Linked DNA regions of Homo sapiens: region 1 is linked to region 2. Evidence: promoter capture Hi-C in human tissues and cell types (Jung and others, 2019). All regions are on one chromosome and are shown on one strand. Each heading gives the region's core, a stretch centred on a gene start or on the middle of the fragment in contact. The rest is flanking DNA. Distances are from core to core; before and after follow the strand shown.

What was found. Contacts are between HindIII fragments. The study calls those that stand out against the background at their distance.
Region 1: a contact is called between a fragment that was not itself captured here and the fragment with the promoter of HCRTR2 in region 2, in 2 of the 25 tissues and cell types used here (IMR-90 fibroblasts and lymphoblastoid cells).

Annotation. Positions count from the first base shown.
Region 1 is chr6:54,069,569-54,072,268 of GRCh38, forward strand. It overlaps a transcript of MLIP not described here. Among named protein-coding and RNA genes, the nearest start is that of MLIP-AS1, 23 kb to the left of the region's middle. The HindIII fragment of the contact is 4,337 bases long and covers 1-2,700 here.
Region 2 is chr6:55,173,147-55,175,846 of GRCh38, forward strand. HCRTR2 (hypocretin receptor 2) reads left to right here and starts at 1,369. Exons shown (of 7, transcript NM_001384272.1): 1 at 1,369-1,664. The coding sequence starts at 1,442. The HindIII fragment of the contact is 12,053 bases long and covers 1-2,700 here.

The DNA of each region.
Region 1 (2,700 bases), core at 142-2,641, 1.1 Mb before region 2:
TTAAATCATCTCTAGATTACTTATAATACCTAATACAATGTAAGTGTTATATAAAGAGTTGTTATACTGTATTGTTTAGGAAATAATAGCAATAAAAAAAGGCAATATAGACAATTTTTTTTTTCTGAATATTTTTGATCTGTAGTTTGTTGAATCCAGGGATGCAGAACTCGTCTATATGGAGGGCCAACTTCACACAAAAATTTAAGAAAAAATTTTTTCTTTAAAAAAGACTCAAATCAACTGTATTTTTAATTTGAGCATAATAGACTGAACCACAAGACAAGCTTAAACTATTTCCTATTTCTCTTTGATACTATAAAGTTTTGTCAACCTAATTCTTTGTAAAGTTACAGTGAAAACAACCTGGAAAAATATGGAGTGGTTAAGTTCAAAAGTGATTCCTTTTGGCTCACTTAACAATCTTTTTTGCTAAGGGTTTTAAAATTTTTGTCACAGTGTGTCTGCTGTATAGTTTCTCACTTTCTTCCATTTTTCCCCTTCTCTGTTACTTTTAGGGGTAAAGCACAACAAATAATTGTTTGCTCTCTGTTGTGTTAAGTGTTAAATGTGGGCCATTGCTGATACCCATGCACGACTGCTTTACTGTTCACTGTGACAGCTGTCCAGCTTACCCCGTAAGCCTGTCTGCCTCACTCATCATTTTTGTTATTCTCCTTCAATTTTCAAAGAGCCTTAGAATCGGGATGATCTAGCACAGTTTGATATGATGTTAGATTTTTTTGTATTTTTATTTCCCCACCTCCCCCCCATGTTTAATGTCCCAGATAATGGATTGGTAAGAATCCAGTGCTTTAAGCATGGATTCTCTGCTTACATTTTAGCCACAAAAACATGCTAGTATATGCAGTCAATGATTTCCAAGCTGATAGCTAATGTAATGTGCCTCTAGAACCACGTCTCTGCTTTTGTTTCTGGAAAAGGCAAGGCATGTCAAATTTATTACATGCAAAATTTGCCTTCCAACCTTGTGGAAACTTTTTCACAGGTAAATTGGTATCCTGGGATTTTTTTTGGTTGCCCAGGTCAAAGAGAAAATAAACATTATAAGTTAACTCATTATATAAGGCAAGGATTCTTTATCTTTTTTGAGTCATGCACTCTTTTTGCAGTTTGAGGGGCCTATGGTCTTCTTTTTAGCATATTGTTTTTTTATGTGCATAGTACAAGATTCAGAAATAGTTCTAAGAACTATTATAATTTCAAAGTAGTAATGAGAACAAGTGATATTTTGCTATATATGCAACACTTGTAATGTAAAATATCTATGATTTTTATAGGTATCAATGTCACAGATAGTGCCTAATTCTACACTGGTTGATTGATTATATTCATAATTGAAGGAAATGTTAAATTCCAGTTAGAGATTAATAAAAACAAAACATAATATATTTCCCATCATGGACCCATTGAATGCTATTCATAGACCCCTTAGACAGAACTAAGATGAATACTTTAGATAGAGTTAAGACCCACGTCTATATAATGTAGGTGACTTAATGTATTGATTCTCTCATAGGTATTTGCATTTTTAAAAAGATCTTCAGGAGGAGAGAAATGGTTTACATAAAAATAATAAATTTATAATAATAAAATATCAACTACTGTATGGTCTTCTATTATGAGGATGCATCTGCTTTGCATGCATCTGCTTTGCTGTAACAATGGTATATATTTTAATGAACATGACAAACTTTAATATGCATGAATGCTGTTTCTATCAAAGTTATCTTCAAAAAGAAAAAAAAACAAAGTTATCTTCATAGGCTATATTCATATTGCATAGTATTGCTAATTTCAAAAACTTCCTAAAGAATAATTATTTCTCTATTTTTTTATAGCTGGAGTCCTAATCTTTTAAGTCTCTTGAGACATATGATAAATCATTGTTTTTCAATAGTGGATTTTAGTTTTAGAAAGAGCTAAAAGTAATAATGAGTTAACCTGTTTAGGATTTTTTTTAAAGGTATAAATTTAAGGCAATGGAACCAATTTTCTTAAAAATATAAATGACTTTTAAAGTTAATTCAAAGAAGTTTCAAAAATATTTTGAGGGATAGCAGAAACATTAAGTAAACATATAGATTGTCCCTGGTAACATCTTTGGCGGTAATATTCATATGAATATGTTTGTTTTTAAAAAATCTTACTTCATGAGCTATGTCTTGTAATTTTGGAACTGCTCCTATAAAATTCATAAAATCTATCAGGAAAAAAGAGAGAGAAATGAAAATAAACCAAGCCTACTGCACATGAAACATTAGCCATGAAGTCAGCTTGCTCTCTGACCTGCTTCTTCGTAGTTCTTTGGTGCCTATTGCCTCACAATCATGTAGACCCTATTACAGAATTACAGTTCCCCTTAACTGTTCCACAGATAACAGCTTGAACATTATAAAACATTAAGTTTTCCCTTTGATCATTTCAGAGAAACGGATCATCCTGATGTTTACCAGAGCAATAGGCTTTAGTGGCGAAAAGGTCTTGCATACTGATGAAACTACTAACGCCAGCTGATTCCAGTGACCCCCCACTGATACCAGCTGATTTAAAAGACCCCACTGACTCAGCTGGTCTGAAGGACCCCATGAGGAACTGACTCACCAAAAAAATGCAGTTTTCACATCCTGATGATTTCATCACCCTTTCCCTGACCAATCAATGACCCCAATTTTCCAG
Region 2 (2,700 bases), core at 119-2,618:
ATTGTCATGTGGAAGATTTATTCTGTGTAGCACCAAGATGCAAACTAGGAATTAGAGGTAAAAGTCTCAAAAAGACAAATCGTGGCTTGAGACCTTGGTTTAATGTAAGAAACAGTTTTCTCACCCTTAGAGCACTCCCATAAGGATGGAAGTAGTGAATTGTGGTGGTCACATTCAAGCTAGATGGGGACATGTCAGCAATGTTATCAGGAGGCTTCTACTCTGAAGCTGAAGTTCAGACAAGATTTCCAGGCTCTTCCCAAGTGCAAGATTGTAATTACTTAAATGCAATATTTTTACCATGTTTATTAAGAATAAAAGGATCATGAATTCACATTCTGACAAATGCTAGAATACTTATTATTAGAGACAAAACCAGTGCATGAGAGAATGGCAGGTGACATCAGCCCTGAATCAATGGGAAGAAAGACCCAATGGGATGTGGTATTTACCAGAGAGAGCACTTCTGCTTAGATTGCTACATCCTACAGTGAATGTTTAATATCATTGAGTATATTGGTGGTCTGTCATGCTTGACAACATTAACTATGATCATATTTATGACACTTGGCGTCCTTCAAGAATTTGTAGCTCTATTTCACATGACACTTAACTATCGCAAATACAAATTCCAGCTAAATAGACCCTTCAGTTTAAAAACAGTCTCATTCTCAAATTTTAAGGAGAAAGTGAAGACGGAGATGTCTTAAAGACTCGGCAAGTACTAAGTTGGCAAATGTCAAATGTTAAAATAAGTTTATATTAAATGTTAAAGTGTTTGCCTGGAATGACTTTTCCATTGTCCTGCTTGAGAAACACAGAGGCACCTCCTTATTGCTTTTATATTTGCTTTACAAAGACAAATGTATCAACATGCTCTGTATTAATTGTATGTTGACATTTTTGTCATATCCACAGACTGATGCATGTCTGTGCATGGTTTATAATAAGTGCACGTAAAAATAGAGAAAATAAGTAGAAAAAGAGAGAGATTTAACTCTCACCCCCCACCCCCCAAAAAAACAGATTAAATTAGTTTTCATTACTTTTTTTTTTTTCTTCAGCTTCAGCTCTCCCTCAGCGAGGGAGGAGGCTGTGGGCTGCGGACTGAGTGCTGGAATGAGGAGTAATTGAGCTTCAGCTGAGCCGGACGTAGCTTTCTCCTCCTGGTGTCATTGCTGCAGCCTCCAGTGCCGGGTCCCTAGTTCCTCAGCTGCCTATCTTCCCGGTGCAACATCGCCTGTAAAGACAGCAAAGCCACCGCAGAAGTTGCCCGGCAGAAGACTCCGGAGGCATTGGCTCAGTAACTTTTCACGTCATTTTCTGCTCGGGAGCCCCTTCTAGCCTCTCCGCGCAGCCTTTCCCACCGCAAATCACCAGTGCTCATGGGGCAGGCGGAGAGGAGCTTGCAGCATTGAGCGGAACCGGACTTGAGCCCGTGATGTCCGGCACCAAATTGGAGGACTCCCCCCCTTGTCGCAACTGGTCATCTGCTTCGGAGCTGAATGAAACTCAAGAGCCCTTTTTAAACCCCACCGACTATGACGACGAGGAATTCCTGCGGTACCTGTGGAGGGAATACCTGCACCCGAAAGAATATGAGTGGGTCCTGATCGCCGGGTACATCATCGTGTTCGTCGTGGCTCTCATTGGGAACGTCCTGGGTGAGTCTCCTCCCGGGCAGCCCTCCTAGGGGCTATCACCCCCTCTCCGCCCCGGGCTGAGAAGGCTCTAAAGAGACCCCTCCCTCCCCCGGGAAGCAAACAAAGAGGTCGCTGCTCTCGGATGGGGTTTTCTAATAAAATAATAATAATAATAGAAAGTTTTCTGATTTTCCGAACCGGGACCGAGCCCTGGAAAGGTTATTCCCTGTTTTGCAGGAATAACGGGGAAACCGCGTTTCTTTTTCGAGCACCTAGATTACAAGCGCAGGGAGAGGGGCCGCGGCAGGGATCTCCAGGTGGATTTTGTTGAGTGTGTGTGTGTGTGGGTGGGTAGGTGGGGGAGTCAGTCATCCCTTTGTGTAACGTGGCTGGGTGTTTCAGGGGGGTTGGGACGAGACAGAGCTTGCAGAATACAAAGCTACATCCCTAAGGAGCAAGCTCTCTGTGGCTGTGGAAGTCACAAAGCATTTGTGAGCTAGGTGGCATTGCCCTTTGGCGAGGAGGTTTAGTCTCCAGTCAAGAGGTGGTAATGAACCAGCAGGGAGTGGAGACGGAGGCAAAGCAGGGAAGTGCACTCACTCATAGAAGCTGAATTAAACAGGATCCATGCCTGGAGCAAGAAGGAGGGGCATCGGAGAAAAGTACCACAGAGATCTCAATCATCCATCCATCCATTCATTCTTACATCCATTCAGCCAAATATTTTTTTTTTTCAGTCTGCTTGTTGCCAGGCTCAGGAATTATTCATGTCAACTGTTTGTTGTTGTTTTGTTTTGTTTTGTTTTCTCCAAAGATGAGACTAAGCTTAATGCTAGGCTATTTGTCCCGGTCTAGGTCTGTATGCAAACACGGGTTTCCTCGACCCCTCATCCCCCTCCCCCTAAACAATTTCTGAGGGTTGGGGAGGGGGTGAGATGGCAACATGGTGAGTGCGATGATGGAATGTATTAGGGCAGTTGGGGAATATACCTCCAGAAAAGGGGCTTTGGAAGGGAGGGATAACTTGAAATAAATTGTGAATGGAAGGAGAGTGTAC